Regions from separate parts of the Homo sapiens genome. Here all the other regions are linked to region 1. The links are contacts of gene promoters, found by promoter capture Hi-C in blood cells and fetal thymus (Javierre and others, 2016). All regions are on one chromosome and are shown on one strand. The core of a region is centred on a gene start or on the middle of the fragment in contact, and the rest is flanking DNA. Distances in the headings are between cores, read along the strand shown.

Region 1 (2,855 bases), core at 302-2,801:
CCTCAGAAATTATAATTATTACTTTCAATTGTAATGACTGGAGAAAGTTTGGCATGCACACTCTGACATGAAGGATAGGTAAGATTTGATTTGCAAAAACAAGGCAAGGGATATTCTAAAGGGAATAAAGATCAAAAGGAATGCTATGGCTCTACTACAGGCACTTTGGGCAAGTCCCTGTAATTACAGTAAAGGGTACTGAAGAAATAAAATTAAATTAATTAAAATAAAATTAGAAATAACGTATAAATAGGAAAAAATAGCTAGTAATAAAGCATAAATTAACAAAACCTTATTTGCAATCTAAAAGATTTTAAATTAAGGGTTAATTTTAATTAGCCAAATGCAAGGGTATTCTACAATGAAACTGCATGTTTTTGAAATTAGAGAACATAACGTATTATACTAAAATACAACTGGCTAGAATTTATGGGTAAAAAAGTCAGAACTACTGTTGCATCAAATTCCCACAAAATGGCTTCTTGAGGTAAAAAAAATACCCACTGTTGCATAAATGCCTTCCATGTGCTAGGAAGTACACCAAATCCTTTGTATGTGTTACTTTTTCCATTTATTCCTTACAATATATGAAATGTATGCAATCTCCCTTTTAGAAAGAAAAAAGCCTAGGTAGATAGTAGGTAACTTGCTAGTAAGTGCAAAAGGTAGGAATATGGGCCAGTATGACCCACAGCTTGGCCTCTTAACTATTGCATTACTGCATCCCAAAGTAATATGGTTTCCAAGGAGTACAGAAACCTTACAGAACCAAAATAAAAGCATGTATTTTTTTTTAAATCAGATTTTGCCCTTTCGTTTTAAATTCAAAGCTCGGGCAATACAAGCCCTCTTTTTTTAAGCAGCACAAACATAAGTTTTCACATGAACTCAATTTAACTGCTAGTTAATGAGTAAAACCTAAACTTTAGTCCAGGTGTTGCCCACACACTCTGCAGTGTCAAAAACTGGAGATGAAAATGCTGTAACATTTACAAACAGGTTGCTCTGAATTTGTTTCCCTACAAATACCTTGTAATTCTGCGTTGCAGCTGGTGGAAGCATTTCTAATGCACATTATGCCACATTCTTTGCCATGTTTTTAGGTAATAGTTGGTCTGACTTTGATTTATTGAAGTACAGAGGCGGACAGCCTCCAGCTTATGAGAAGCGCCCTACAAAGGCACGGATGTTACCGCACTGTGACTCAACTATTGCCTTATAGTTCTAGTTTTGCAAAATTAATATTGAAAAATACAAGCAATGGGCATATGTTCTAATTCCTAGTGCCTGGGCCTCAGAGCCTCCAGCTTAGCCCAGAGCAGTGCGTAGAGGAAGAAGGTATTCCTGGAGTTTAGAAACACGCCGACGCCCCTTCCCAATACAAAAACTACCACCCCACCAAAGGGTCCCAGACAGTTCAGAAAGGTCAGAAGCTACTTCCACCGCTTTCCGTGCCTGTTTCCGCCTCCAATTTCACTTCCGGGGAGGGGACTTCCGGGCCCTCAGCCTTAAGGGGCGGGAGTTAAAGAGGAGTCGGAAGTGGCACCAGCACTTCCGGTACGGAAAACTCGCTGCTGCCCCAACCTGGCTTGACAGGCTTGGTCTCTGCAAGTGGCTCTCAGCCCCTTCTTCTTTCCTGCCTCACCTTCCAATTCGTTTGCCGCCGCCGTCCCGCAGCTGCTGTTTCCGGAGTTGCCCCTTCCCCATGTTCCGGGGCAGGAGTCCGCAAAGCGAAGATCCGCCCGCCGGTTCCTCATCATGTCCGAACTGACTAAAGAGCTGATGGAGCTGGTGTGGGGCACCAAGAGCAGCCCCGGTCTCTCGGACACCATTTTCTGCCGCTGGACGCAAGGTACCCTGGCGGGGCTCTCACACTTGCAGCCGCTGCTTCTTTTGCCCTGCGAGAGTCCGCCTGTGACGCCTCTCGCTCCAGCCCCTCGCGTGCCCCGCTCTCTGCCCCAGTCGCCGTGCTCAGCGCTGAAGCTGGACTTTCTAGACACGCCCTGCCTTGCCTTGGTGGGGAGAGTTTGAGTAGGAGAATGGTTACAGCTGCCACTAAATACCCGCAGCGCTCTTTCCATCCTCCGGGCTGCCCTTCGGCTGGGGAGGAGGAGAGGGTGGCCCCTTGCTGGGTTGCAGGGCGTGACACGGAAGATGCGCCCCGTGCCCCGGTGTCACTTTCTCAAGGGGTGCTGTGGCCTTCCGCATCTTTACCCCCTAACAGAGCTGTCTATTGGTGGTGGTTGGTCTATTTTTGGTGAGAAGGAGGGACGTCCAAGGGAAAGTCCAAGTGGCTAATTCCAAAAAGCAGTTTTTTGTTTGTATTGTCATTATGTGGTTAGGCGTGGTAGTCTGTGTATAAACACTGTTATTTGCTAAAAAGTGTACTCTTGGCCCAAAGTATCCCCGTTTTTTATATGGTTTATTATCTGTCACGGTTAAAAAAGGAATATGGATCATAGTACTTCCTCGGCCGGTATGCTTGTAACCCAGACAGGACTTTTACTTACATGAAGAGTCTTAGTACAAATAATAATGAAATAAAATAAGCATTTATTGAATTCTTGCACTGTAACAGGCTGGGCGCTTTATACTAGTAACTATCCCTAATTCTTAAGTTTGGATAGGCAAACAACTGACACATTCCTAAAGGTGACTTAGGAAAGATGATGATGAGGTTAAAACATAACCTTGAGTCAGAAGGATCAATAATTTATGTATGTAAAACACTATTATTATTAAAACATCTATTTAGGGAACACCTGTTCCCGAAATAGATTGGGCGGAATTTTGGCATAGTAAATATAAACCCCTATTTCAAAACGTGTATTTTGTAACAAAAATTCAGGATTTAC
Region 2 (3,028 bases), core at 207-2,706, 1.6 Mb before region 1:
TGCAGTGAGCTGAGATTGCACCACTGCACTCCAGCCTGGGCAACAGAATGAGACTCCATCTCAAAAAAAAAAAAAAAAGAATTTGGAAATAATGTTATAGAGGTCAAAGGTAAGGCAGTTAAGGCATCAGGTGGGGTGATGGAGAGAATGTTGCTGCAGGCAGAAAGTTAGAAAGTGTGAGCATGACCATAGCTGGACAGAAGGATTCAAGGGAGATTTGCTATCTGTCTGTCCTTGATGTGGGATAATTTTGCAATAACTGTCACGTGGTAGGTACTGGATGAACATGTGTGGTTTCTGCATCACTTTAGTTATCTACAGAGCACCTAGTAAGATATATATTGTGTGGTTCTGAAGATGATTTCAGACAGAGATGTAAGATTCCTGTGAGATTATTGCCTATGTATTTTGGGGCCCATCAGGGATGCCTGACTGCACTGGAACAAGTGATCTATTTTGGTGTGCAGAGTACAAAGGGGTGGGAGGGGCATGCCCCTTTTCTGTAGATGTCGTGTTGTTCTAGGGATGCTGTCTGCTATTGTATTCTCATCAGAGTGGTAGTGGAAGAGAAAGGAAGAGCATCTAGAGACAATGCAAGTAACAACCCAGAAAAGCCTGGAAAGTGAAGAGAACTGCTAGTGTGTGAGAAGATTATTAATTTATTAAAAAGTATATTTGGAGCACCTGTAATGTAAACCCACACTGTGCTAGGCATGCAAAGAACCAAACAGACATGAGGTCTCTAGACTCATGGAGCTAGTTGGAGGAGGGAAACACAAATTACTGAATCCCAGGAATATTAAGTTATGTGCAGGAAATGAAAATAAGATGCTACGAAAACAGATGACAAGGAAACCAACTCTGGGGGATTCCAGAAGTTTCCCCCAAGGAAATTAATTATTAGGATTTCGAGAACAGAAGTGCGCAATTGTAAATATAGTGAATTTCACAAGCTTCCACTTATTTGTTTTAGTACGTGTTTGGAATTTCTGGGATAGCTGCTGTTTCTGGTGCAGTTTCAATGCTTCTGTCTAATTACTTGCTAATTTGGCTGCATAATTTATCAGGTCCATATTTTTTGTTACCAAGCACTCCCTGAGTGTCTCCTTGGCTCCGGTGCAGCCAAATGAATGGCAGTACTATTCTATTAAAATTGCACCCATGCACATTTATTTTCTGTTACATTGAACGGGATTTTCATCATTTTCCACTTGGCTGTATTCAAAGTGAAATTAGCCTTGTGCATCATCCTATCTAGAACGTATTGTTCAATAATTTCTATCCTTTCTATCATTCGCTTCTCTATCTCTTAGCATGCTGAAAATTGTTCAGTATTTCTTGTTTAATTTTGGAAATTTTAGCAAAATTCAGTTGGCTTTTAAGTGATACTCAATCAGTGAAACCCAGTCATTCCAGGTAATTTTAAGTACCATTGACTGTAAAGACATAGACACAGCATCGTCATTAAAGTAGAAGAAGACAAATTGTTGCCCCTCAGAGTCAGTAAAATAGTTTTTTTACAGTCCGTTTCACTAAGTGTTTAGAATGTGTATTACCTGATTAATCAATGTGTCTTGAACCTTGACAATGTCAATGTATTCTCACTGTTCAGTACAGGATTGGCAGCGAGAGAGGAGTAGAATTATTAAGGTCTATTTGCCATGAAGTAGTACATTATCAGGCTTATGATTAAAGTAGCTGTTGGCTAACATTTGGTAAAGAGAAGATCAGAATTATGGGAGGACAGAAAAGGATATATAAATTTTGTCTTTCTGATTCACAGTAATTGGATCTGACTGGCTAACTCTTGTCCCATAAAATAACTCTTAATTACTTGTGGGAGGGGGGAGGTGCTTCAGGCAAAAATGTGGACCAGGGAATAAATTCATTATTTTGGACATTGAAAATGGTATTTCACAAACGTTTTAGAACAGTTGACTCTTTCAAATGTAAGCTTTTCCCTAAAGATTTTTAAATTTATTTTGCTCTTCAATATTCAGTTTTTTTCTCTTTTAGCGTGATTAAAGACTGTTTCTATTGGCTTAAAGATTGTTCTCTTGATTAAAAGTGAAAGAGATCATTGTTAGGTGTTCTCCTTTATTGATGCAGATTTAGGATTGAAGTTATCTTTATGTATGAAATTATAAATTCTATATTATAATAAATAAAATCTATAGTATAGTCTATAATAAATTCTGAAAAGGGCTGTATAAAGCAAACACTTGCAGAATCTTTATTCTTCTCTACTTGTTTCCTTTATACTTTGATGGCTGCGTACCCATGGAAAATATCGTCATCAAAAGGAAATAAAATTGAAGGCCGGGCACAGTGGCACCTGCCTATTATCCCAGTACTTTGTGAAGCCAAAGAGGGAGGATGACTGGAGCTCAGGAGTTTGAGACCAGCCTGGATACCATACTAAAACCCCATCTCTACAACAATTTTTTTTTTAAATTAGAAGGGCACGGTGACACACTCCTGTAGTCCCAGCTAGTGGGGAGGCTGAGGCAGGAGGATCCCTTGATCCCAGGAGGTTGAGGCAGCAGTGAGCTGTGATTACACCACTACACTCTAGCCTGAGCAACAAAGCAAGACCCAGTCTTAAAAAAAAATTAAGTTTAAGACTTGTTCTAATTTGTATGAATCCTTTTAATTCTAAGATCTCACTCATTCAGGGCTAGTTAATTGGGCAATTTATACACACAATTTTTTTGCATGCCTGTTAGAAGCACAGGTCAATTAAACTACATACTATACAATTTCTTTTGTATTACGGACTGCTGTAAATTGGATTTCCTGGGCAACACACTCTGGGATACAGATTTGTATATAGGACACTTATTAGGAAGTGCTCTCAGGAACAATGCCCATGAGGGAAACAGGACTAAGCAGCAGGAGAAGACAGATAGATCCTAATGCAGTTGCAACAGAGGACTCAGCCAGTTCCACAGGGGGCTTGAGGCTGGCATGGCCTTTCCCAGTTGTGTTCTACCCCAGGTAAGGGGCTAGGCATCAGTCAGTCATGACG
Region 3 (3,047 bases), core at 157-2,656, 1.4 Mb before region 1:
TAAAACCATCAGATCTCATGAGACTCATTCCTTATCACTAGAAGGGTATGGTGAAGACTGCTCCCATAATCCAATTACCTCCACCAGGTTTTGCTCTTGACATATGTGGATTATAATTCAAGATGAGATTTTGGGTGGGGGGCACAGTCAAACCATATCATTCTGCCTCTGGCCCCTCCCAAATCTCATGTCCTCATATTTCAAAATGCAATCATACCTTTTCAACAGTCCCCCGAAATCTTAACTCTTTCCAGCATTAACCCGAAAGTCCAAGTCCAAAGTCTCATCTGAGACAAGGTAAGTCCTTTCCATCTACGGGCCTGTAAAATCAAAAGAAAGTTAGTTACTTCCTAGATATGATGGGAGCACAAGACTTGGGTAAATTCTCCTGTTCCAAATGGGAGAAATTGGCCAAAACAAAAGGGCTACATGCCCCATGCAAGTTTGAAATCCATCAAGGAAATCATTAAATCTTAAAGCTCCAAAATGATTTCCTTTGATTCCATGTCTCACATCCAGGTCATGCTGATGCAAGAGGTGAGCTCCTATGGCCTCGGGCAGCTTTGCTTCTGTGGCTTTGTAGGGTATCGTCCCCCACCTCAGCTGCTTCCACAGGTGGCATTGAGTGTCTGTGGCTTCTAGGTGCATGCTGCAAGCTGTCAGTGGATCTACCATTCTGGAGTCTGGAGGACAGTGGCTCTCTTCTCACAGCTCCACTAGGTGGTGGCCCAGTGGGGACTCGGTGGGGGCAAAAATCCCACATTTCCCTTCTGCACTGCCCTAGCAGAGTTTCTCCATGAAGGCTCCGACCCTGCAGCAAATTTTTGCCTGGACATCCAGGAGGTTCCATACATCCTCTGAAATCTAGGCAGAGGTTCCCAAATTTCAATTCTTGACTTCTGTGCACCCACAGGCTGAATACCACATGGGAGCTGCCAAGATTTGGGGCTCACAACCTCTGAAGCAACAGCCCAAGCTGTACTTTAACCCCTTTTAGCCACAGCTGGAGCTGGCACAGCTAGGATGCAGGGCACCAAGTCCCAAGGCTGCAAACAGCCGCAGGGCGCTGGACCTGCCCCACAAAACCATTTTTTCCTCCTAGGCCTCTGGGCCTGTCATGGGGGTAGGGCTGCCATGAAGTTATCTGTTATGCCCTGGAGACATCTCCCCCATTGGCTTGGTGATTAACATTTGGCCCCTCGTTACTTATGCAAATTTCTGCAGCTGGCTTGAATTTCTCCCCAGAAAATAGATTTTTCTTTTCTCTTGTATTGTCAGGCTGCAAATTTTCCAAACTTTTATGTTCTGTCACCTCTTGAATGCTTTGCTGTTTAAGAATTTCTTCTGTCAGATACCCTAAGTCATCTCTGTCAAGTTCAAAGTTCCACAGATCTCTAGTGCAGGGGCAAAATGCTGCCAGTCTCTTTGCTAAAGCATAGCGAGGGTCACCTTTATTCCAGTTCCCAACAAGTTCCTCATCTTCATCTGAGACCACCTCAGCCTGGACTTCATTGTTCACATCACTATCAGCATTTTGGTCAAAACCATTTAACAAGTCTTTAGGAAGTTCCAAACTTTCCCACATCTTCCTTTCTTCTTCTGAGCCCTCCAAATTGTTCCAATCTCTGCCTGTTACCCCATTTCCAAAGTTATTCCACATTTTCAGGTAGCTTTCTAGCAGCACTCCACTTCCGGTACCAATTTACACTGCTATGAAGAAATGGGTAATTTATAAAGGAAAGAGGTTTAATCGATTCACAGTTTATTATGGCTGGGGAGGTCTCCGGAGACTTACAATCATGGCAGAAGGCAAAGGAGAAGCAGACACCTTCACAGGGCAGCAGGACGGAATGAGAACAAGCAGGGGAAATGCCAGATGCTGATAAAACCATCAGATCATATGAGACTCACTCATTATCACAAGAACAGCATGGGGGAAACCACCTCTATGATCCAATTACGTCCACTTGGTCCATCCTTGACACATGGGGATTACAATTCAAGATGAGATTTTGAGTGGGGATACAGCCTAACCATATGACTATCTGTCTTCCTATCCATATATCTATCATCCATCAAATCATCTATGATTTATCAGTCTTCCTCTCTATCTCCCTATCTATCATCTATTTATCTTCCTATGTATTTATCTATCTAAACATCTATCTATATCTATGTCTATCCTCTATCTTCCTATCTCTCTAACTATCTATTAAATCATCTATTTATCTCTCTGTTTATCAAATCATCTATTCTCTCTCTCTCTCTGCCATTGGTTCTGTTCCTTGGAGAACCCTGACTAATACAAACACACATTAATTAAAATTAAGACTCAAAAATATGTGAAACAGAGAGGCAAAACCATCTCTGATATCTTGTCACATGACACTATTTAATTTTGGAGACCTGCTTTTCATATATTTCTTTATATCCATACACATATAGAATGATGCATAGATATTGATATTGTTTGGCTCTTCATCCCCACCCAAATCTCATGTTGAATTGTAATCCCCACATGTCAGGGGAGGGGCCTGGTGGAGGTGATTGAATCATGGTGGCAGATTTCTCCCGTGCTGTTCTTGTGATAGTGAGGTGTTCTCACGAGATCTGATGGTTTAAAAGTGTGGCACTTCCCCCCTCAGTCTCTCTCTCTTCCTACCATGTAAGAAGTGCCTTTCTTCCCCTTCACCTTCCACCATGATTGTGTTTCCTGAGGCCTCCCCAGCAATATGGAACTGTGAGTCAGCTAAACCTCTTTTTTTATAAATTACCCAGTCTCAGAGAGTTTTTTTTACAGCAATGTGAAAATGGGCTAACAGAGATACCATACATATTTTTTAATCTTGGGTCTCTCTCTCTCTCTCTTTCCTTCCCAAACATTGGCATTACTACCATCTCTCTCCACCACCAGAAGAAGCAGGGTACCTTGTGTACCAAGCTACTGAGCATCCTTCTGGACCTTCCTTCATGCTTTTGTACAAGCATAAACACAGACACAATGTGATTTAACTTTTTTTTTTACTAAAATGAAATCATATTATGGA
Region 4 (3,103 bases), core at 119-2,618, 1.4 Mb before region 1:
GACAGTTTGCTAGTTTACCAGACACAAAAACCGTGTGTGTGTGTGTGTGTAAAATCTTATTTTCCTTTCTGAAAATCTGGAGCAGATTTTTTTTTCTTTTGAGATGGGGTCTTACTCTGTTGTCCAGGCTGGAACGCAGTGGCATGATCTCAGCTCACTGCAACCTCCACCTCCCAGGCTCAAGCTTGAGCAGCTTTTCTGAAAAGATCACTCACTCCTGATAAAATGAATTTCCAGGAACCACAGTATAAGATACATCAAGTCCATAGAATCCATAGATGGACTACTGTTAACCCTCAGATCAGAGTCATAGAATTTAGTCTGCCTACTAAAGAAAAGAGAAGAGGAAGCAAAGCAACACCTATTAAGCCCTCGTTTGAGGCCCTCCCTGTGATAGGTGCTTTTATTTGTGTTTGTTTTTAAAGTGAAGAAAGATGCTTAAAAGGGAGAGCAAAGAAAGATGACTTAGAATAACCAGAGTGCCAGATGCTTGCTTTGAGTTTACAGCTTGACTCTATCACAAGGTAAAGGATATAACCTTAAACTAGAGAACACTCTTTCATAGTCTCCACTCTAAAATACAATCTCTATTTAGACAACTAATGGTCCTTAAAATGTCTCATCAAGGAAGCTGTGGAACACGTCTAAAATGTAGAGTTGTTTTTCCTTTCTTTTTTCCAGGTAATAAACACTCGACATTTAGAAAATGCAGTTCTAAATTTACGAAGAACACCACGTTTTCAGCTGTGCTCACAGTCACACACGTAAATATTTCTTATTAAACAGGCTTCCATTTATTACTGTGGGAGTTACTGTCAGCTTTAGAAAGGAAGATTACTGCCTGTAATCTCTCTGTCTGTAAATGGAGAATAAAGTGATATTCAATTTAAAATTATGGAAAGAGAGATAACTACTTTGTAATTACTTACCCTGCCTTTCTTGGTGACTCATGTACCTCGCACAATTATGAATCATGGTTTAAATTGTATTCCCTCAGATCATCACAAGAAGGTTGGCAGTAGCTTTAGCAAAAAAAAAAAAAAAAAAAAAAAAAAAAAAAAAAAAAAAAAATGCAGGCTTGGTTCATCAGGGTCTTAGTGGCAAGCCAGATGTTATGGGAAGTCAGGGATCCCGAATGGAAGGACCGGCTGGAGCCATGGCAGAGGAGCATAAATTGTGAAGATTTCAGGGACATTTATCACTTCCCTAATAATATTCTTAAAATTTCTTACGACTGTCTTACTTTAATGTCTTAATCCTGTTATCTTCGTAAGTTGAGGATGTACGTCACCACAGGTCCACTGTGATCATTGTGTTAACTGTAAAAGTTGATCGTAAAACATGTGTTTGAACAATGTGAAATCAGTGCACCTTGAAAACAAACAGAATAACAGCGATTTTAGGGAACAAGGGAAGACAACCATATGGTCTGACTGCCTGTGGGGTCGGGCAAAAAAAACCATATTTTTCTTCTTGCAGAGAGCCTACAAATGGACGTGCAAGTAGAAGAGATATCGCTAAATTCTTTTCCTAGCAAGGAATATTAACATTAAGACCGTAGGAAAAGAATTGCATTCCTGGGGGGAGGTCTATAAACGGTCACTCTGGGAGTGTCTGTCCTATGCGGTTGAGATAAGGACTGATATATGCCCTGGTCTCCTGCAGTACCCTCAGGCTTACTGGGATTGGGAAACCCCACCCTGGTAAATTTAAGATCAGACTAGATCTCTGCTCTCGAACCCTGTTTTCTGTTGTTTGAGATGTTTATCAAGACAATACGTGCACAGCTAAACATAGACCCTTCTCAGGAGTTCCTGATTTTGTCCTTACCCTGTTTCCTCAGAAGCATGTGATCTTTGTTCTCCTTTTTGCCCTTTGAAGCATGTGATCTTGTGACCTACTCCCTGTTCTTGCACCCCCTCCCCTTTTAAAATCCCTAATAAAACTTGCTGGCTTTCAGGCTCAGGTGGGCATTACAGTCCTACTGATACGTGATGTCACCCACAGCGGCCCAGCTGTAAAATTCCTCTCTTTGTGCTCTTTCTCTTTATTTCTCAGACCCGCCGACACTTAGGGAAAATAGAAAGAACCTACATTGAAATATTGGGGGCGGGTTCCCCCAATACCACAGACTCCAACTCTAGCTATCTTGAACTGCATTTCCAATTTATTGGAATGAGATGGCAGATGGACGACCAGGCTTGGAAAAAACAGCCAAGAAGTCTGGGGAAGCTAGAGAGCTGGAATCACACAAAAGAGCACGCTGTGTCTAGTCCATAAATCATCAACCATGTGGCCGTGAACATGAACCTCAGACATCTCTCTACCTTCCTAACACTCACTGAAGATTTGAAGTCCAAGGAAAGAGTCCTCCATCCCTGACTGCTTTGTGGTAGAAAGAGGAATTGTCTGTTACTTAGATTTCAGTAGAAAGACTTCCACACTATGGGAGATTTCCTAAAAGGGAGAATAGGGTACTAACAGGAGAATAGTGTTGCTGTTGGACGATGCTTTGGATGACATTATATGCTCAACATTCAAGGACAAGCTTATCTAAAATAGAGAATATAATATATTCTTATATTTAATCTTATCTCTTGTTATAAGTAAAATGTTTATTCAGAAACAGAATGCTTGTTCCTCGGTACTGCAAGGAAAAATCACCATTCAGCCAAAAAGTTTTCTCAGCAAGGCAAATTTACTTTCTGCAGAAAGGGTGCTCCTCGCAGATGGAATAATGGCGAGAAGGAGGGAAGCAATTTTTATCCCTTAAAGTGCTTGCCCTTGCTACTGTGTCCTGTCTCCATTGGCTGGAGCCAGACCACACAATCTAAACTGAACCTGATTGACTAACAACTTAAAATTTTCTAAATAGATAAAAGCAATGTACAACAAACGAAAAGTGGAAGTTGTTTATGAAAAGACTTAGAAAAGTAGTAACATTCCTAAATAAGGAAGGGGTATAGGCTGCGAGCTGGGACATGCCTGTGAGCATGTCCAGCACAGATATCTTGGTTAAAGTACAAGGACATAGAATGTACTCATTCCTTTATATCTAACAGCTACATAATATAGGGCTTAAAAACGAGTTATTAGTGTGAAG
Region 5 (3,035 bases), core at 229-2,728, 1.3 Mb before region 1:
AGGGAAGTCAGACATGCCTCATTATACTTTCCTCTCTTTGGAGTTCAGGCACAACTGACCAGTATTATTATTAAAACAAGAGATCTTCATACCGACATAACAGACTCTTCTTAGCAATAAGATACCAAAATTCCAACATGACTCTAGTATAGCATCACATGAAAGATAGCAGGCCCTAAATCAAAGCATTTTACCCTAAAATAAATTTCTTTGACACTTTTTGAAATGGCCCTACACAGCCATCTCTTGTGGGGAAAATCTACATTCTATAGAGACTCCCTTTCCCTTTCCAGGTCTTTTCCTGATCCAAGAGATATTTAACTAAGAGTCTGGCATCTTTTTACACATGATAAGAGACATTTGCCAATTATTCTCTCTGAAGCCTGTTACGTATGAGACTTCGTCTACATAATAAGAACCTTGGTCTCCACCTTATCTTAACCCAGACACATTCCTTTCTATTGATTCCAGGTCTTTAGGTCACAACTTAACTCTTTCAACCAACTGCCAATCAGAAAATCTTTGAATCCACCTGTAACCTGGAATCCTTCCCCTTTTTGAGTTGTCCCATCTTTATGGACCAAACTAAGTACACCTTCCATATACCAGTTAATGTCCTTATGTCTCCCTAAAACCATATAATCCCAAGCTGTAGCCCAACCACCTTGGGTACATGTTGTCAGGACCCTGTGGGGTTGTGTCATGGGTCACGGTCCTCACCTTGTGCTCAGAATAAACCTCTTCAAACATTTTACGGAGTTTGGCTTTTTTCGTCAACATGAGCCTCTAACAGTTGGTTACTGGATCATCCTGAGGAATCAAGGCCATAGCACTTAAAGACCCATAAATAATCCTACATGATATTCACTGTGTATTCTATGTAGGTGTAATTTCCAAGCTAAAACATAATTAACCCCACTAATAGACACAACAAACATCCTCTGTATTATCAGCACGCACACAGGGCTTTCTCTGCTGCGAGTGGACTTGTGTCCTTACTTATAATTCTGGAATCTTCTCTAGGGGAGAGGCTGGTCTAATTTCTCTCTATTGACCCAGGGCAGGCAGGAAACAAGGCACACTGTGGAAAGAATGTTTGAATGTTCAGGCTTCTAAGTGACAGAAAAGCAGCTTGTCTGAAAAATGATTTTTTTCTGGCTTCTAACCAGTGTTAATTCACTTGGAAACCAAGGCAGTTTTCTCCCCTTTACTGAACTCTGGATTTCTTTTCCAATCAAGGCCCCTGACACCAAAGAAGGAAATGGAGCGTAAATCAGGCTACAGAGTGGCTGCCATTCATTCGGGAAGCCTTATTGTTTTCCGTCCTTTGTTCCCCTCTAGACCCTTGCCAATCCCCAGGCCGCGAGGCCCTCTGAAGCCCTGAGCCTGGAGCGGTAGGAGACGGGGGAACTGAAACGCCGCGGAACCAGAGGCTGAGGGAGCGGCGCGATGGAGGGAGGAGGAGCGACGGACCGGCAGGCCTAGCTCCGGGGCTGCGGCGGCTGAGGCGCGGGGATGGAGCCCCTGCGGGTGCTGGAGCTATACAGCGGCGTGGGCGGCATGCACCACGCGCTGAGAGGTGAGAGTCCATCTAGCACCCCTCTCTCTATTCGCTCACGGGGGCTGGTTGGAGCACCCGCGCCGGGAAGGGGCGGAGCGGCGAGACGCAAGGGGCGGACACTGTGGGGCGGACACTGTGGGGCGGCCCTCGGTTGTCCTGGAAACAGCTCCTGCGCGCCGCCGTGTCCACCCCTCCAGACGCTGACTCCCTTCTCCTGGCGCCGAGTCTGGCTCGAGGGGCCGCACATGGCGCCTCAAAGGGCCCAGTTGGGAGTCGGGATTCGCAAGGCAGTAAATCAACCTCAAAGGGTATCAAAGGGGCGAGACCCTCGCCTGGTGCCAAGCCCCCATTCTAAGTGTGCAGCCACCGAGAAGCATGGAGACTCGGTCCTTCATCCTGGGGGGCTTCCCAGCTGGGGAGGGAGGGAGTGTCAGGGGCTCCCCTGGTGAGAGATGGATCTTGGAAGGGATAATAGCTACAATTCAAGGTAGAAGTTTGCGAATGCTAAATAGGATGGTAGAGGAAGCTTGAAGAACTTGGACGTCTGATCGTTGGAAAGAAACGTGTCTTCTGTAGTTCTGCGTTTAGATGCCAGAGAACTGAGTTCCAGCTTGGTGGCAGTGTGACGTTGGGCTACTTCGTGAACAGTGATGAACCTGTTTCCTGGTTTTAAAAGAGAATGATTATTATAAGGATTAAAGTCTGTCAAGTGCTTGTTAGTGCCTGATACATTGTAACCACTCCAAATATTATACATTATTATCACTATTACTTTAAAACGACATCACGAGATATTATCAAGCAAACTATTACTTTTATGCACGTCTTTGATTTTGAGGTTTTTGATTTCTTTCATGCTGAGTTGGAACTGAAAGTTTTACTTTTGGTGATATTCACTCAAAATTATTTATTGAGCTCCTATTCTGTGCCAGATTTTGTGCTAGGAGCTGGGGATACAGAATGACAAACAGGCTTTGAAGGTGCATGTTTATTCTTAAATTACTAAGACAACCACCGAACTGAAACTTCCCTGCTTCCTTATTTAGGACCAAGAGTAACAAGAGTAACTGTAAGATACAGACAATATTTAATGGGTTTAGCGTATAAGTTTTTTGAGCAGATTTATTGAGTTTCAATTCTAGACTAGGTTAATGATCATTAAGTTTTTAGTACTTGTTTGCCGGCTATCTTTATTTCTCATTTTAAAACTTAGCAGCATCAAAGCAAAACTCTAGTACTATTTACTCTTTGTTAATTCTCTAAAGTGATATAATGTCCGCGTTTTCCCATATCTTGAAACTCCTTAATGAATTGCTTAGTACTTTATCATAAGCTGTAATTCAGCCATTCCTTAAGTGTCGAATATTTAGATCATTCTTCAGTTTTTTTGCAAGTACAGTGTGCTACAGTTACATTCTTGAGCATAATGCCGATTTTCTCTTTAAGCATGTTTACTAACTGTTGGAATTAATTC
Region 6 (2,964 bases), core at 70-2,569, 1.4 Mb before region 1:
TGGGAGTCTACTAATCTCAATAGGTATGAGCAGAACTTGCTGTCCTGGTTCTTTTCCCCTGAAAGAAAACTGTGGCTTGTTTTTCAATTTTTAAAAAAATAATAATGAGTCTGGTGTGTGAAGAAAGCCAATATGGGGCTGGGGTCTTCCCTGGATGACCCTTATAAGCCAAAGGTGGGATACAAGTGGAAGAGGAGACAGGGATCCTAGGGTTAGGAGGCTGCGGGGAACAGTGGTGAGAATGGCTAAAGAACAGAAAGCAAAACGAAAAATCAAATAGAAAAGGTTTCATAAGGGCCCAAAGACCTGGATGTTTACACTAATAAAATTAATTATGCCATTGTCCATGTCAGTTGTTTGAATATGGGGGCTGAGGGGACAGACACATTTTCTGTAAGATTATTCTAAGGGTAGCATGACCTGACCACATACAATCTATTGTCCAAACTGTTATTATTAATAATTATGCTTACACAACAGTCATAAACCAAGAATGTCCCAAGTAAACTAGAATGTAAAGTTTACTTTTACATTTAGAATTTACCTTTAGAATGGCTAGGAGTTACTTCAGCAGCCAATCCTTTTTTTCTTTATTTCTAAGACAGGATCTCGCTCTGTCACTCAGGCTGGAGTTTAGTGGTACAGTCTTGGCTCACTGAAACCTCTACCTTCCAAGCTGAAGCAATTCTACTGCCTCTGCCTCCAGAGTAGCTGGGGTTATAGGCATCCACCACCACGGCTGGCTAATTTTTGTATTTTTTGTGGAGACAGGATTTCGCCGTGTTGGCCAGGCTAGTCCGGAACTCCTGACTTCAAGTGATCCACCCGCCTCAGCCTCCCAAAGTGCTGATATTACAGGCATGAGCCACTGCATCCAGCCCCAATCCTTTCTTTATTCATGCAGTACCCACGGTAACCAAAATGATGAAAATCACAGTGAACATTCCTGCAAATGGGCAGGGCTTTGTGAGAACCATCTCACTAGTTAACTCCAGAGAGAGGCAGATGCAAACACAGAAAAATTATGACAATGTCTACCACATCATTCTCGGAGGAGAGAAGATAATAATATTTCCATAATTTGAAACTTAGAGATGTCCGAGAATGTACTCGAAGTTTTCACTCCAGAACACACATTATTGACCATTACTACACTATTGCCTCTTGGCAATACCTTCTCTCGTCTATTTATGTAAGTTCTATGCTCACACTGAGTGCTTTCTAGGGAGCTTTCCATGACTGCCCCACTTCATTTTTATTGCTCCAGACTTTGAAACCTTATTACACCTACAGTTAGCACCATGCGATTCACATGTAATAATCTCATCTCCCTGGAAGAAAAGGTAGGAGGTTTTATTTTGTGCCTAATGCCATTCTCCAAACACAAAGGTCTTTACAAATATCTGTATCTATAGATAGATGGATATAGATATAGCTATCACACACACACACAATAAAGCAGAACGGTTTCATATATTAAATCTTGGTGAACTAGGCTGAGTGTGGTGGCTCATGCCTGTAATCCCAGCTTTTTAGGAGGCCGAGGGAGGATCACTTGAGCACAAGAGTTCCAGACTAGGCTGGACAACACTTCCAGACCCCATCTCTACAAAAAATTAAAAAAATTAGCCAGGTGTGTGGCTAGTTTTGGGAAGACAACTCACATTTTAGGCTAAAGTTAGACATTCGTTTATTTGTTTTGAGTACTCCTAGCTACTGAGGAGGCTGAGGTGGGAGGATTGCCTGAGCCTAGGAGTTGTTGGCTGCAGTGAACTATGATTGAGTCACTTTACTCCAGCTTGAGTGACAAAGTGAGATCCTGTCTTAAATAAAAGAAAAACTTGGTGAACTTTTTCCATTTCTCTGCATCTTGCTAGCGGAAGATAAGCCCCTATATCTTGGCAACTTCCTATGCTTTAACTCCCAAAGTGGAATTTGTGTTACTCATATGCTATATGTACTAAAAAAAGTTTTTATTTTTTAATTTTAGGAAGTCTGTTTGTTATGATTAAAATCACAGACCTGAGCTCATTTTAGAGAGACCTATCTTCATTTTGGTACAAGTTATTTTATTCGACACCACCTATTTGTAAATGTTTTTAAGTAATAATAAAAAGAAGTGAGGTCTATCAAAAATGACAAAATTAAGAACTACATCTCAAGCATAAATAACCTGAATTTATCAACTTACATGATTGTAATGACAAATTAACTAATAGGACCAAGTAGAGAATTGTTTAGATATTATCCAATAAATAACACAACAAAAGAGTTTTTCCAAAGATTTATTGAAGCAGAACCAAGTTGGTTGGATACTTGCTGGAAAAAAAAAAGCAGTTTTAATGGTATTCAAAATACCTTTTAAAAAGTATTCTAGCACAAGATTTTTCTGTAAACTAGATTATGTTGTAAACTTTTTTCTAAATCTTGTAGGAGTGTCGGTTGTTAAGAACTAGAGCTTATTCCTATTCCAAATCTATCTTGCGCTCCTGAAAAACTGCAGAAAGGCACTTGAAAGCTGTTTCTTTAAGATATGGATTTCTTTTTTATTCTTGCTGGTAATATATTGCTGCACTGAGTGTGTGCAATTTTTATTCAAGGTCATCGTGATGCTGAGAAGTTTCGTTGATAACCTGTTTAAAAAAAAAAACCAAAATAAATATAATGCCACATGCCAAAGACTAAATTATCCTATATATCACGGCAAATAAAAATCCTGCTAAATATATGTAATTTATTGTGCAAATCAGAAGGTTATGTTGCTTCTGCATGAGTGAAAACTAGAAGGGGCAGACACACAAGACCCTCTTCCACTACAGGCAATATAAGGATCCAGTGGAATGTTGTAACTTACAAAAAGAAATTTCTTAAAAAACTGTGTTTATAAAAGATGGTATAATAGTTGTACACAATACAGCCAAGTTTAAAAGCAATTAAGACATATTAAAATGTGCAGCAGGTACA
Region 7 (2,952 bases), core at 331-2,830, 1.8 Mb before region 1:
CAAATTTATTATATTCTGCAATTCATAATAGAACACGGGCTTTGGAGTCAGTGGTCCTTCAAAATCACCGCCCATTGGCTGAGAAGCTTGGGCAAGTTTCTTAACTTCTCCAGGCTTCAATGAGCTCATTTGTAAAATGTGGATAGTAATACCTGAAAAGATTGTGTGGATTAAATCAGCTGAAGTGTCTGGCACATGAGAGGTGGCATGTTAATAACATATCTTAGAATATATTAATTTGTATGAAATTCTTATCCATTTTATAACAATTGTTAGCTTCATGAAAACAGGCTCCATGTTTCACTCATTTTGGTATCACCTATTTCTACATAGTACATGGTAAATTCACATTTTATAGGGACGATTTTATAAATCTGTTGAAATATTATTTATTCTTAGGGCATTTAAAAGTTTATTTTTCAAAATGTTATTACATTGAACTTTGTAACATGCATTACTGTTGTGAAAATGAGTTCTATCTTGTGGCAGATTCGATGCTTTAAAGGAATATTTGGTAGGGAAACTATTAACTGCAAAATACGAAGGCATTCTGCCACAACATTTGGGTTTCATGTTAAACATATCAGTATTATAAATTCTACACGTTAAAATATGTAGTGTTCATGGCATTTATAAATCAATTTTAATAATTTATACTCAACGAAATGAATCTATCTTATGTGTTCAGTATGATGAGATTTTTTTTTTTTTTGAGACGAGTCTCTGTTGCCCAGACCAGAGTTCAGCGGCATGATCTCGGCTCACTGCAACCTCTGCCTGCAGGTTCAAGCGATTCTCATCCCTCAGCCTCCCGAATAGCTGGGACTACAGGCGTGCACCACCACGCCTGGCTAATTTTTGTATTTTTAGTAGAGACGGTGTTTCACCATGTTTGCCATGCTGGTCTCGAACTCTTGACTTCAGATGATCTGCCCACCTCAGCCTCCCAAAGTGCTGGTATTACAGGCATGAACCACTGTACCCGGCCGGTATGATGAGTTGCAACAAATATGTAGAGCTGTGTAACCACCACAATCAACATGGTGAACATTCACACTACTACAAAAGCTTTCCTGTATTTATTCTTAGTCTAGTCTCCCTACAGGAATCCCCAACTTCAGGAAACAACCTTTTTTGTTTTCTGTCCGTTTAGATTAGATTTTGCTTTTCTAGAGTTTTATATAAAAGTAATCATATACTATATAATATTTTGTGTCTGGCTTCTTTTGCTCAGCACAAAGTTAATGAGATTCATTCATGTGCCATGTACAATAGTATGTTCCTTTTTATTGCTGAGTAATATTCCATTGTATGAATACACTACAATTTGTTTATTCATTCACACATTGATGGACACATGAGTTATTTTCAGTTTGAATTACTATTACTAAAGCTGCTATGAACATTTGGTTTCAAGACTTAGTGTAGACATATGTTTTTATTTCTCTTGGTTAAATACCAAGAGTGAAATTACTGGATCATATGCTAAGTAAGTGTATATTGATGTAAGAAATTGCCAAATTATATTCCAAAGCAGTATTCTTTTTAGCCTTGTATGAGAATGCCAATCCCTGCTAACATTTTAAAATATTAGCCACTTGAGTGGTTGTGTGGTGCTATCTCATTGTGGGTTTAATTTGCATTTCCCAAATGACTAATAAGATTCAGCACTTTTGCATGTGCTATTGGGCATTTCTTTTTTACTTTTTTTTTTTGAGATGGAGTTTTGCTCTTGTAGCCCAGGCTGGAGTGCAGTGGTGCCATCTCGGCTCACTGCAACCTCCGCCTCCCAGGTTCAAGTGATTCTCCTGCCTCAGACTCCCAAGTAGCTGGGATTACAGGGGCGTGCCACTACGCCCAGCTAATTTTTGTATTTTTAGTAGAGACGGAGTTTTGCCATGTTGACCAAGGTGGTCTCAAACTCCTGACCTCAGGTGATCCGCCTGCCTTAGCCTCCCCAAATGCTGAGATTACAGGCGTGAGCCACAGTGCCTGGCCGGCTATTGGCCATTTCTATATCTTTGTGAAGTGTGTATTCAAATCTTTTGCTCATTTCAAAAAATTGAATTGTTTTATTAAGTTGTAAGCTTTCATTATATGTTCCAGATACAAATTCCTTGTTAGAGACATCTGTCGTGAATATTTTCACTTTTTTAATGTTGTCTTGAAAACACAGATGTTTCCCATTTTGATGAAGTTCAATCTGTCTTTTATTTCCTTTTTATGATTAGTGCTTTTTTCTACCTCCAAAATCTTCACCTTCCCCAAAGTCACAAAGATTGTTCTGTATTTTCTTAGAAATTATGTAATTATAGCTTCATGATTAGGTCTGTCATTCATTTCAACTTAATATTTATCTATGGTGTGAGGTAAGATTTATTTTTTGATATGGGTATCCAGTCATTTCATTTACTGAAAAGATTATATTTTCCACATGGAAATTACCTTAGCTTCTTATAAAAATCAATTGACCACATACATATGGGTCTATCCCTGGACTTGATTCTGTTTCACTGATTTCTATGTCTCACCTTATGTGTACCACAGTGTGTTGAAAACTAGTTTTATAGTAAGTCTTTAAACCAGATGTATATGTGCTCCAACTTTCTTCTTCCTATGTACCTCTGCATGAATTTTATAGTTAGCTTGTCAAGTTAAAAAAAAATCTGCTGGGATTTGGAGAGAATTGACATTTAACAGTATGGAGTCTTCCAATTCATGAACAGGCAACAGCTATTTATTTAGATCTTTCATTTCTCTCAGCAGAGATTTATAGTTTTGAGCAATGATTTATAATTTTCAGTGTATACGTCTCACACATATTTTGTGAAATTTATGCCTATATAGTTCATGTTTTTGGATGCTGATTAACGTTGTATGGTTTATTTTAAATTTCATTTTCCAGTTGTTCCGTGTACACATGTAGAAAAACAATTGATTTTTGTTATGTTG

What was found. Contacts are between HindIII fragments. The CHiCAGO score rates a contact against its expected background, and 5 or more counts as called.
Region 2: a fragment that was not itself captured here is called in contact with the fragment with the promoter of MINDY3 in region 1 in 1 of 17 cell types (activated CD4 T cells); the score reaches 7.7 in activated CD4 T cells.
Region 3: a contact is called between a fragment that was not itself captured here and the fragment with the promoter of MINDY3 in region 1, in 1 of 17 cell types (endothelial precursors). The highest score is 5.1, in endothelial precursors.
Region 4: a fragment that was not itself captured here is called in contact with the fragment with the promoter of MINDY3 in region 1 in 4 of 17 cell types (naive CD8 T cells, endothelial precursors, total CD4 T cells and 1 more); the score reaches 6.8 in naive CD8 T cells.
Region 5: a contact is called between the fragment with the promoter of TRDMT1 here and the fragment with the promoter of MINDY3 in region 1, in 7 of 17 cell types (total B cells, non-activated CD4 T cells, naive CD8 T cells and 4 more). The highest score is 11.3, in total B cells.
Region 6: a contact is called between a fragment that was not itself captured here and the fragment with the promoter of MINDY3 in region 1, in 4 of 17 cell types (total B cells, naive CD8 T cells, naive CD4 T cells and 1 more). The highest score is 6.6, in total B cells.
Region 7: a fragment that was not itself captured here is called in contact with the fragment with the promoter of MINDY3 in region 1 in 1 of 17 cell types (activated CD4 T cells); the score reaches 5.1 in activated CD4 T cells.

Annotation. Positions count from the first base shown.
Region 1 is chr10:15,859,203-15,862,057 of GRCh38, reverse strand. It overlaps MINDY3 (MINDY lysine 48 deubiquitinase 3), which reads left to right and starts at 1,551. Exons shown (of 15, transcript NM_024948.4): 1 at 1,551-1,852. The coding sequence starts at 1,759. RefSeq lists an enhancer at 1,760-1,809. The HindIII fragment of the contact is 10,196 bases long and covers 1-2,855 here.
Region 2 is chr10:17,421,156-17,424,183 of GRCh38, reverse strand. The region is part of intron 2 of ST8SIA6 (ST8 alpha-N-acetyl-neuraminide alpha-2,8-sialyltransferase 6); the gene reads left to right. Among named protein-coding and RNA genes, the nearest start is that of ST8SIA6, 32 kb to the left of the region's middle. The HindIII fragment of the contact is 1,001 bases long and covers 956-1,956 here.
Region 3 is chr10:17,280,551-17,283,597 of GRCh38, reverse strand. No RefSeq gene overlaps it. Among named protein-coding and RNA genes, the nearest start is that of VIM-AS1, 52 kb to the right of the region's middle. The HindIII fragment of the contact is 5,419 bases long and covers 1-3,047 here.
Region 4 is chr10:17,262,311-17,265,413 of GRCh38, reverse strand. No RefSeq gene overlaps it. Among named protein-coding and RNA genes, the nearest start is that of VIM-AS1, 34 kb to the right of the region's middle. The HindIII fragment of the contact is 2,364 bases long and covers 187-2,550 here.
Region 5 is chr10:17,200,115-17,203,149 of GRCh38, reverse strand. It overlaps TRDMT1 (tRNA aspartic acid methyltransferase 1), which reads left to right and starts at 1,478. Exons shown (of 11, transcript NM_004412.7): 1 at 1,478-1,579. The coding sequence starts at 1,516. RefSeq lists a silencer at 1,781-1,840. The HindIII fragment of the contact is 5,194 bases long and covers 1-2,089 here.
Region 6 is chr10:17,236,899-17,239,862 of GRCh38, reverse strand. It overlaps VIM (vimentin), which reads right to left. Exons shown (of 10, transcript NM_003380.5): 10 at 2,270-2,633. The coding sequence ends at 2,592. Among named protein-coding and RNA genes, the nearest start is that of VIM-AS1, 8.4 kb to the right of the region's middle. RefSeq lists a silencer at 799-1,093. The HindIII fragment of the contact is 3,798 bases long and covers 1-2,964 here.
Region 7 is chr10:17,619,183-17,622,134 of GRCh38, reverse strand. No RefSeq gene overlaps it. Among named protein-coding and RNA genes, the nearest start is that of HACD1, 3.3 kb to the right of the region's middle. The HindIII fragment of the contact is 1,019 bases long and covers 1,071-2,089 here.